2 separate regions of the Homo sapiens genome follow, and region 2 is linked to region 1. Evidence: promoter capture Hi-C in human tissues and cell types (Jung and others, 2019). All regions are on one chromosome and are shown on one strand. Each heading gives the region's core, a stretch centred on a gene start or on the middle of the fragment in contact. The rest is flanking DNA. Distances are from core to core; before and after follow the strand shown.

The links. Contacts are between HindIII fragments. The study calls those that stand out against the background at their distance.
Region 2: a fragment that was not itself captured here is called in contact with the fragment with the promoter of SNCA in region 1 in 1 of the 25 tissues and cell types used here (hippocampus).

What each region holds. Positions count from the first base shown.
Region 1 is chr4:89,832,391-89,838,825 of GRCh38, forward strand. SNCA (synuclein alpha) reads right to left here and starts at 4,771. Exons shown (of 6, transcript NM_000345.4): 1 at 4,572-4,771; 2 at 3,157-3,302. The coding sequence starts at 3,277. It overlaps SNCA-AS1 (SNCA antisense RNA 1), which reads left to right and starts at 4,011. Exons shown (of 4, transcript NR_045481.1): 1 at 4,011-4,344; 2 at 5,871-6,016. The HindIII fragment of the contact is 14,325 bases long and covers 1-6,435 here.
Region 2 is chr4:89,792,663-89,798,210 of GRCh38, forward strand. The region is part of intron 4 of SNCA (synuclein alpha); the gene reads right to left. Among named protein-coding and RNA genes, the nearest start is that of SNCA-AS1, 41 kb to the right of the region's middle. The HindIII fragment of the contact is 3,193 bases long and covers 1,662-4,854 here.

The DNA of each region.
Region 1 (6,435 bases), core at 3,521-6,020:
CAGAGCTGATGGCTTCCCTGAGCGGAGGTGTCCCACACACACCCTATCTTGTCTTCCCAACCTCAAAAGAGCACAGAGTGGAGAAGAAGGTCAGAAGTAATACCTGAGAGTTTTGAGAACTCAGTTATCCCTGTTGTGCATGTTATGTTGACTTTGTCAGCTTAGTGAGGTGAAGCACATTTTGACTTGAGAATTTGCTATCAATTTCACTGATGGCCACTGCTGCTTATTGAGCAGAGTGGCATTGGAAGACACTCAAAGATCATCATTTTCTTGTATTTATTGCATTTATATTACTGAGCATTATATAAAGATAATTAAATCTTTCTGCTTTTGGATTTAGATCTAATTAATTTCTGAGTCATTTGAAGAAATTTTTGTCTATTAAATTGAAGTATGTTGATTGAAAATTGGTGTACGCAGATAACAAAAATGGAGGGAACAAAACCCATAAAAATAACACTGATCATTAAGGTAGTTCTTCAATGAGTTAAAAAGTAGTTGTTAAAAGTATATTCTTATAAAGGAATGAGATTACTTTTCTTATGAGGCTTCTACCAAACATCTTCAGCCATAAGTGAAATTATAAAATGGTCTTTGGTCGCCTCCAATCTTTCAAACTAGTTATGTAATGAAGGATAAAAGAATAAATGGAAAACGTGTTGGCAAAGTAATTATTCCGTTGGAGAGTTTATTTGATAATAATAACCATGGTTCCTATATATAAAAGTGTGCTCAATTATTCATATGTCCTGTCTTATTATGACATTCCCACAAAAACTGCAAGGTAGTTGCAGTTTTCTAAATCATATTTTTTACTAATCAGGGAAGTGATGCTCAGAGATGTTAAGTACGCTTCCCCAAGACCCTAAAGGTGATAAGTGATGTAGTCTCAACTAAAACTTTGGTTTGTGTGATTAGTGCATGTTCTTTCCACTCTATCAGTAGTCAGCAAGCTACAACATACAAGACAATTCCAGCCCACCACCTGTTTTGATAAATGAAGTTTTATTGGGACACAGCCACACTAGTTATTGTTTATGACTACCTTCACACTTCAACAGCAGAATTGAGACATAGATTTTTTTTTCTTTTTTTTAGACAGGGTATCACTCTGCCACCCAGGCTGGAGTGCAGTGGCTCGATCTCAGCTCACTGCAACCTCTGCAGTGAGCTGTATGGCTCAAGCCATCCTCCTACCTCAGCCTCCTGGGTAGCTGGCAATACACATGCATGCTACCATACCCGGCTAATTTTTGCGTTGTTTGTAGACACAGGGTTTCACCATGTGGCCCAGGCTGGTCTCAAACCCCTGGGCTCAAGTGATCCACCAGCCTCGGGCTCTCAAAGTGCTGGGATTAAAGACCTGAGCCACGGCACCTGGCCAAGACATAGATCTCATGGCTTAAAATACGTGCTATCTGATTCCTTACCCAAAATTTTGCCAATCCCTGGACTATACTATTGTGTCTTCACATGGTCATTTTTTATCTTAAATTCTGTGTGTAAGTTCAACTCTCAATTAGAACTCAGAATGTAACCAATAAAAAATTTATAGAATGTGCTATGTGTTAAATGCCATGAGAGACATTGAAAATGATTTCAATGAACAGTTAAAAGGTAACTAAGTCAAAGAAACTTGTGCTTGCAGAACTTGGAAATCTGAGGACAAACGGAAAGATATTGATAAACTGCATGTCACTGATTCAGTATTCCAAATTCCATCTAAAAAGGTATAATTCACACTTCATAAAATATTTAAAATTAACTCATCAATTTTTTCCTCTTGTAACACCCTATTTCAATGACTTTCTGAAAATATGTTTTAAGGTAGAAAAAAAGTAATTTAATTGAAGATTTGTGGGAAGATTAAGTCAACATAAGAAAAGTCTAAATAATGAGGCAGTGGCACATGCCTATAATCCTGGCTACTCAGGAGGCTGAGGTGGGGGCATGACTTGAGCCCAGGAATTCAAGGATGCAGTGAGCTATGATAGCATCACTGCAGTCCAGCCTGGGCGACAGAGCAAGGCCCTGACTCTAAAAACTGAAAATAAAAAACTGAAAAAAAAATGTGTTGTGAACTTTGATGAGATGCATTCATATAAATCATCCCAAGTATAAAATTTCCCCCACTGATCTATGTTGAAGAGATAGTGTAGCTTTCTTTCACTTTGCAGACATAGACGGAGCACATGTTTCAGCTAGGCAACTCAATGTGGTCATCCTCCACCTGACTGTTCATCCTGTGACTCTTACTGCTATAGTTGCCACCAGAGAATGTGAAAAAGCTCAGAGGAGAAAGAAGAGAGGAAGAATGGGCAATGTGTCTGTGTTGAGTGTGTGTGTCTATGCCTGTGGATGAGAGTGTGTGTCTATTCTTTTCCAAGGAATTCAAAGTGGTTTGTAAAATAACACTCAATTGAATACAGTTCAAGTTACAGAAAAGAGAGTCAGAGTTTGGGTGTATACCCCAAGGTGGAACTTTAGGAACAAGTAGGTAATAAGCATCAATTTCTTTATTCTTTTAGTATGTGTGTCATTTGATGGATGAACTATACAAATGTTTCTGAGAGATTAGTAGCAGCCCTCAAGCACTTTTCTCTGTCCTCAGTGTTCACAGAGACCAAATGATCACATGAAGTAACTCTATCAAAGACTAATCTGTTCTTTCCATTTTAGGGCCACAAATAGGTCTCTTTATACACATCACAGGGGCATATCAAAGTCATATTTTAAAAATCAGAATGGATTAAAATTGACAAACATTTTTCATGATGGTAAAAGAAATCACAGATCCATCAATGATTTTGATTCTTAAGAATATTCTTGATTATTTTTTAAAAGACTATGAGTTTTTAAAACTGTTCTCTGAAATAGAATTATGTAGGTACAGAAACATTCATTTTTAAAAAGTCATAAATATTAGGGCAAAATTAAAAATCTGGAAAAGCAAACAGTCGCATTTTTTACTATTAGCTCAAATACACACGTTCACATTCACCTACCTACACATACCTCTGACTCAGTCCACCTTTTTGACAAGCAATGATGCAAAAATGAATCAAGAGAGAGAACTACCAGCATTTAGAGTATTGATTATCCTAACCCATCACTCATGAACAAGCACCAAACTGACATTTGGGGTTTACCTACCTACATAGAGAACACCCTCTTTTGTCTTTCCTGCTGCTTCTGCCACACCCTGTTTGGTTTTCTCAGCAGCAGCCACAACTCCCTCCTTGGCCTTTGAAAGTCCTTTCATGAATACATCCATGGCTAATGAATTCCTTTACACCACACTGGAAAACATAAAATACACTTTGAATGAGAACTTTCGGGGAAAAATAAACAAAAAACACTGAAAAATCATGAGAAACCCTCCAAAGTGTGAGACTCTTTTAAGTGTACACTCATTTAACCATTGGACAAAGCAGACATTTTTAGCTCTGGCATTAAAAATTTAGCATCTCCCATCCATCTTGGCTAGTAAAAGTCTAGCCACCTAACCACGGATTAGGATGAATCCTCTGAGTTGTTATTACTGCATTTCAGAAGTGGAGTTGCATGAAAAGATTAACCCCTTTTTTAAATTCCCGGGGTCTAAAGGGTAACAGTATGAGTTAGAAGCATGGAAGCTGGAGGCTTAGGGTCAGGGGTATCCTTAACATGAATCCCAGAAGAAGGCTAACAGGTTGATGGTGGAAAGGCGTAGGCAACAGAACTAACTGCTCACTCGGGGTGTGGTTCAAACTCAGGCAAACAGCAGGCCCAAGTGTGATGGTTCTAATCCATCCAACATCCACCCCCGCCCTCAGCTATCTACCCTGAGCAGGCGCCGCTCACACTCGCGGGCCGTCTCCAACCCCGCGCCAGCCACCCGAGGGGGCGTTCTCAGCCTCCACCCTAGCGGACCCCGCGCCAGCACTTGTTAACCCGTTACCACCTGTTGACTTGGCCTCCTTGCACTTCCATTTCATTATTTGCCAAACGCAGCTTGCTTACTTTACAGAGAAAAACCAAGAGAGCGGGCAGACAGATTTTATGTGAGAGAAAAGTTGGATGCTCACGCTCCATGGAGCATCCTCGCGTTTCCCGGGGAAAAGCGGATCCCGGAGAAGCAGCCTAATCTCTCAGCCCTTGTGGAGAAGGGAATATCAGAAGCAGGACGAAAGCCAGGTCAAGTCTCTTTCCTTAGGCTCCCCAAAGGGACAAGTACTCACCTCCCAGAGACCTGGCCCAGCGGGTCCTCATGGCAGCACCACCCCCTCCCGGTGCCCACGACCATTCGTCTCCCATCCGGCGTTCTCCAGGATTTCCAAAGACGCCCGTTTAGATCCACAGGTACTTACCTGAGTCCCTCTGCTTCTCCACAACTCCGACTCCTCCCCGCCTCTCTCTTTTTTTAAAAAAAAAATTTAAACAATTCCCAAATAATATTTAATAGGAAAGAAGAAGGAAAAGGAGCGCACAGGAAGGGCGGAGGCGGCACCCGGGGGGGACTGTCCCCAGAGGAGGCCGCTGTGAGCCGGCGACGCGAGGCTGGGGGAGTGGGAGGCAAACCCGCTAACCTGTCGTCGAATGGCCACTCCCAGTTCTCCGCTCACGAGGGTGGAAAGGCAGAAGGCTTGAAGGCAAGGCGTGAGGGAGCGCCCAGGACGCTCTCGGAGGGGCCGGGCCGGGGTCTGCGCTGCAGCCCGCACGCACCTCACTTCCGCGTCGCGGCGCTCGGTCGCTCGCCCCCTCTCTTGGGCCCCTTCTGGTCGTCGCCGTCCTCCTCCTCCTAGTCCTCCTCCTTCTCCTTCTCCTCGGCTCTCCGCCCCCACCGCTGATTTGTCAGCGCTTCTGCCCGCCCCTCTCCCGGCGCTCGCTGCTTTCCCTGCAGCGTGCTCCTCGTCCCTATCTCGGATGGGGATGGGGCAGGGGGCGCGGGGTGAGCCATCAACTCCAGCCGCCTGCCTGGCCGCGCAAGGCGGGAAAGTGGGGGCGCTTTTGCGCCTCACGTTAAGTTTAGGGTCACGAGCACTCTTGTGGAGATCGGGAGCGGTTGGGCTAGGGATGATGCCTCTTCCTCTTTCCCCTTCCCCTCCCTTCTTGTCCCCGCCTTTCCTCTGGGTCCTCCCGGGGACCACCCCCTACCCCTCGTCAGAGTCGCCCTGGGAGAGCCGAGGGCCTGAGGGTCGACCACCAAGGGCAGAGCCTATCCCTTGGGGAGCTGCTGGAGGAGACAGGCAGCGCCGGGAGGTGGCTCACACCGCACCGCCGAGAGCGCTTTGCCCTCGCATCGCTGAAATTTAATCACGGTCACAGGTTACAACGTTAGGGGTCGCTTTAGTTCAAATATCTTCAAGGTTTTCGTTTGCTCTTAATCTAGGAAGAGCCGGAAAGGGTCCTGAGGGTGAAAGGGAGACTACTAAGGAAGAGTCACAGGTTGAGGAGGCAGGAGAAGGCTCAGCAAATCCTCTTTCCACGCCACTATCACCATTTTCCTTTCCACCAATCAGCGCCTGCCAGACGCTGATTTTCCCATCAGTGGAACAAGGAATAAATATTCCCCAGCCGTCTAAAACAAGCGGTCCTAAGGCTTTTCGCTCTAGAAATGGGACTTACTTTGCAGACCTCCCTTTATCTGGGAGACAAATCCAGCGTGATTTAGCCTACCGGACCATCATATCCAATTTCTTCTTCAGCCCCTTCTGAAAGGGAGATGCTACACACCACTCACCTTTCTGACTTCTGATTCTCGTTGCCCTCAGAATTGACACCCCCTTTTCTCTCCCCCCACCCACCACACGCACATGCACACAGACATACACACGCGAACTTCAAGACAATTTTTGCATCGCTTAACACATTTTCACCTCTTTCAGAGCTGGAAGACAGCTGTTCCTGGATCACACCAGAATGGAGAAGCAAGCTCCTCCCACTAGCAGAAAGCCTTTGCTTTCTGTGCCTGGATTCGGAAGATTAGTTAAGCACTGGAAGAGGAGGGGGGAAACAACAACTCGTTTTTGCTGTATGTTTTTTTTTTAATTGTTTTTATATTTATAGAAAGTTATGCTTTGTCTGATTCTTGCGCTAATTTGGGTTCTGAAATTTGAGTAAAATCAAATTTAAACATACAAAACAACTTTAAAACCACAAGGAACAGGAAGCAAATGATTATACATAAAAGACATATAGAAGATAATGCATATGTGTTCAGTGGAAAATAGAAAAGCATGAAAGTAAGATCACAAATATTTATTATTTAAACTCTTCCTTGAACTATTGGTCTGCCCTTTGGAAAAGCAGACTTTCCTTAATGCAGTAGCTCATATTAATATTTTTTGTTTGCTTAGGACCAGAGCAAGAAGGTTGGACTTGGGAGCTAGTTTGCTGTCTGGCTTTGAGACCTTGAACAAGTTTTGTTCTCCTTCTGTTTCCAGTTTTCTT
Region 2 (5,548 bases), core at 2,008-4,507, 41 kb before region 1:
AGTTTGCCTTTATTTGGAATTTGTTATCTATTGTTATATACTCTATTAATACCTCCTCTTCAGCAAGGAAATTTTCTTACATCTGCTTACACGTACATCATTTGTTAGAGCCCCTAAATATTGGTAATGATGATGATGATATTATAGCATGAATTACTTTACGTTGAACATTGGCCTAAGTGCTTTAAACACATTATTTGCCTAGCATTTACAACATTTTTGTAGGTATTATTTGTCACAATTACATTTTCTTGTTCTATGATATAATTTGTTTTGATATCGTATTAGTTTTCTATTGTTCCCCTACTGAATTACCACAAATTTATTACATTGTGGGATTGTAAGTCTGAAGTCCAATAGGGGTCTCACTAGCCTAAAGTTAAGGTGTCGGCAGGACTGTGTTCTGTTTTGGAGACTCTAGGAGAAAATCTGTCTCCTTGCCTTTTCCAGCTTCTTGATGCCATTCATAGCTTCTTTCATGATCTGGCATCCTATACGTTATACTTATTTTCTGATTATATTTTGCCTAACCTCTGTGAGATATTAATTATTTGAGGGCAGAGATTTTTATTTGTTTGTTCATAACTATATCCAGGTGCCTTAAAATGATGCCTGACACAAAATAGGTACTCAATCAACATAGGTTAATAAATGAATGAGCAAAAAGTTTTATTGTGCATATTAATTGTTACCTGGGGGAATATACTCAGACATCTTAAGTCTCATATGTAAACTTGGGGTATTGATATCAACATGCCATTTTGAGGATTAATTGAGGTTATGTCTATAAATACCTACTAGCATAGTGTCTAGCACATAGTATGAAAACATTGTATTATTATTATTTATTAAAATGGCATTTTGTTTTCTTTATAGCACCTGACACTATCCAAATTGCCTTTTCTGTTTCTTTTCTTTTTACTTATTTCTTAATTGTTTCACAAAGGCAGAGTCTTGTATGCTTTGCCTCTATGTCTTTAGTACCTAGAATAGTGCCTGTTTAAAAGTAGGAGCTGAATAAATGTTTGCTGAATTAATATTAATCATGTGTAGGAAAAGAAGCTTGGGAATGTTATTCTACCACCCACAGCTGTGCCCACTATTATGATGGTTGTTTTGTGTGTTCTTTCTCAAGGATTCACTTTCAGAACTCAAAATGGGGTGTAGGGTGGTGGTGGTGCCAGCAGTGGGGATGGGAGAAGCTCGATCTCTCCCTACAGTAGAAGTGCTTACTGCTCTATGTGTTCTTCAGCCCTATAAGAACCAATGAAAGCCATCCACACTTCCCTCGATACTGGACATCCCTACATACTCACAGCAGTCTGCAAAACATATCCAAGGGCCCACTGAGACACTGAAGATGACCCATTGATTTAATACATATTTGCAAGGCTCTGATTGAGAACCTCTGGACAGGCGCTTATCTAGAGGTTACAGTGTGTGACTAACACGACACAGTTTAGGATTTATGTAACAGGAATATGCTATAGGGAGAGAAAGAACAGAAGACCTCAGTTGACACGGTGGAATTGGAGTGAGAGAGATTTCCATGAAGCCAAGTAAATAGTATTTTGGAGAGTGAAGGAGGAGACATCATCCTTAACTTCAATATTATTATCCTGTGTAGATTCATACTTTGTGTATTTTTTACTTAAGAGAAAAAATAGTAATAATATTCGCTAGGAGAAACACTTTGAAGAAAGAAATAAGTCCAGGAGCCCTGTAATGTACTTTTCCTCTATTTATTTCCCACATAAAATTAAAGCTGTTTTAGTTCTCATCGCATTTATCATCTTGAACTCATTTGCCACATTATTTTATTTAAATATTCCTTAACCTACAGAGAGTGGACTTAACTGCTAAAAAGTACTTAATACATGTTCCCAAGGAACTGCTTCAATTACCACTGCACAAAGGTTTGTTTGTTTTTAATAATACAGTATTATTACTAGAAGTATCATCAAGTCATGGAATGGTCAAAATATTCTTACTTCTATTGCTAGGGTGTTAGAAAGGACTCTGGACTACTTGATGTCTAGATGCAGATAAAAAAAGCAGCTGTTCACTTCACATAAAGTAGCCGCTACTGCTTAAAGGTAAGGGTAAATCTTGTTCACTGTGGATGAAGGTTACTAAAGAGAAGGACTAACATATAAAATAGGTTCAAATATATACGGAGATATAGACTTAAAAAATTAAGACTTCTCCTTCAATTAATATTCCAAGAAAAGAAACTCCATATTGCCATCTAAACACAGAAGCTTTTCTGTAATGGTATTCCAGTGAAAGTCATTTAAATTCGAATAGAAAAATTTAACTTGAGATCTGCCCTTATGAAAAGTGGTGAGAATTCAAATAGTTCTCGAACCCTATTTGTCATATCACTTCCTGAAAGGATACTCAATCTCTTAATTTTTTTCTATTATTTTGTACTTTATGGAAAAATATTTAGGAAGATTATAGAAAGAAAATTTTTAGGAAGTAGCGTCTCTAGTTTTCCTAAAATTTATGTCAAACCCGGCATTATTTATTTTACATATAAAAAGATCATAACTTTTACTCTTTGTTAAAACTATATTAAAACAAAAGAGAAGCAACCCACTAAATAATAATTGATTAATTTCATTTGGAGGTCTTCTATGTTTAGTATGTTTATGGACTTTTTAAACACTGAGGATTCACTAATTTTTTTTTTTTTTTTTTTTGAGACAGGATCTTACTTTTTTGCCCAGGCTGGAGTGCAGTGATACAATCACAGCTCACTGCAACCTCAACCATCCAGGCTCAAGTGATCCTCTCACCTCAGCTACCAGACTAGCTGAGACTACGGGGGTGTGCCACCATGCCAGGCTAATTTTCGTATATATTTTTTTTTTGGTCTAACTGTGTTGCCCAGGCTGGTCATGAACTCCTAGGCTCAAGTGATCTGTCCACCTTAGCCTCCCAAAGTGTGGGATTACAGGCATGAGCCACCATGCCAGGCGAGAATTTGCTTTTAAATGAGAAAGACACAATACCTGCCTTCGGAAAGTTCCCTGTCAAATTTTAGAAATAAATAATTAAACAAAGTTTATAGGCATAATAAGTCATAATATTCTTGAAAAGATATGCAGAGGGTTCCAAAGGAGCACCAACCAACCAGAGGGGAAAATATGGGGGCAACAGAGAGGCAAGAGGTGATATGAGAGAGAAAGCCTGAGCTAGAACACAGAGCCAGGTCATGAATCTGAAGGCAGGAACAACTCTGTCAGCTGTGAGACATGAATTTGGAAGGCTGCTGGGAGAGAAAAGCAGAGATTAGTCGTGCAATTATCTACTTAAGATATTTTGGGCTGGAAGCAGTGGCTCACACCTGTAATTCCAGCACTTTGGGAGGCTGACGCGGGTGGATCACCTGAGGTCAGGAGTTCGAGATCAGCCTGGCCAACATGGCGAAACCCCATCTCTACTGAAAATACAAAAATTAACCAGGCGTGGTGGCAGATGCCTGTAATCCCAGCTACTCAGGAGGCTGAACTAGGAGAATCGCTTGAACCTGGGTGGCAGAGGCTGCTGTGAGCTGAGATTGCACCACGGCACTCCAGCCTGGGCAACAGAGCGAGACTCCATCTCAAAAAAAAAAATATATATATATATATTTTGAAGTCTAGAGATGAATTCCAGAAATAAGGTATACAGAAAGTGAAACTGTAGGACTTTGTGATTGACTAGAACTGAGGGACAAGGGAGAGGGAAAGGGAAGAGTTGAAGATGATGGAAACAATAGATTACAGGAAGAGGATCAAATTTAGGGGGAAGAAGATCAGATCATAATCAATACAACTTAATTCCACATGTTCTGAAAGTTAAATATCTCCTCTAGCCAAAAGACCCTTCCTATTTTACTTCTCTGGACCTCTTAATGTTTCTTTGATGTTTATTCCCCTGCACAAATAATTTAACCCCTTTACAGATCCAAAATTTTATAGTAGGCAAATATTGTAACCCCCTTGAAAATGTATGTTATGAATAGCCTTTGTAGGTGATATTTTTGCAGTTTGGTAACTTAGGACAAGGTCCATTTTCCTGTCCCTTGTTAAATGTCACAAGACTTCATCTTCTCTACCTATATATCACAAAGTACCTTCTGCTCTGCTGATCACAAGGTAATTAAGTTTTGGAGTGGAGGAGTGTCTTAGGTTTATGTTCATGCATTAAATATAAAGAAATCTATGATTTTTAAAAAATTAACTATATTGAGGTATAATTCACTTACAATCATATGCACTCATTTTAAATGTACATTTCTTGAGTTTTGATGCATTAATAAACCCATGTAACGACCACCACAATTGAGAAATCATATATCTTCATTATTTTCCCCAATTTTCCTTTGTGCCTTTTTCTAGTTAATTCCTTCTCCTTCTCCTCCACCTCCACCCCAGCCCCATGGGGGTAGCCATGAAGGTACACCTCTTGGATCTTTTCTCTCCAATTAGCTGCCAGGAGTGCTATTGGCCTCCTGCTGCAGCAGCAATGGGATCCACCACAGCACAGGAACCCAGACTGGCCTCCAGCCAATGACTGGGAGCAGCAAGGAAACTACAGCCCAGACATGTCTGCCTAATGCATGACTCCTCAACAAGTAACCTTTGTTGGAAGCCAAGACTTTCTTGTAACTGCACTGTAATCTGTGGCTATTCCTACCCAATTCTCCTTCCTTCTGCCTCCCTTTGAAGTGATATCACAACTACATTGTGGTTTTTCCTTGCCTGGTTTTTCTCCTGTTCTCTTTCTACCTTTCATAGCTATTGCCTGCAATAAATCTCTTGTGGATGGTTGTAATTCTAACACCATCTTGGAATCAGCTTCCTGAATGACTGAACTGATGCCTCTACCTCCAGCAAGCATGGATCTTGTTGTTACCATGGATGACATTTGTCTTTTCTGGAATTATAGTATGTACTGATTTGTGCCTGGCATCACACAGCATGATAGTTTTGAGATTCATCCATGTTGTTGAGGTTATCAGTAGTCCATTCCATTTTTGTTGCTAAGTAGTATTCTGCTGTATGAATACAGCACAATTGTTGATTGATTATTGTGTTGTTACCAGTTAGAGCTATTAAGAGTAATGCTATCGTGAATAATTCTGTACAAGTCATTGTATGAACATATGCTTCCATTAATCTTAAGTAAATACCTAGGGGTAGAACTTACAGATGAAGAAACAGAAGTACAGCATGTAAGTGACTTTGCACAAGTAGGCAGCACAGGTTTTCTGACTTTAAATCTATGCTCTTAACTCCTATGCCGTATTGTTCTTCATGGGAAGAAAAGCTATTTTTCTTGACCCATTTAAACTTTCCATAATGTTTAATCAAAATATTCAATATTTAAGTTAAAAACAGCAAAATCTGGGATACAAGGTGTACCAACCTCAAGTAAACATGCCAGGTGTTTGGAAAAGTAGAAGAATAATGAACCTTACTACATGCAAACTGTGCAATAGTTACATGTAGAATGCATCTCAAAAAAAAAAAGGTTCCTGGAAACCACAGTGCTATGA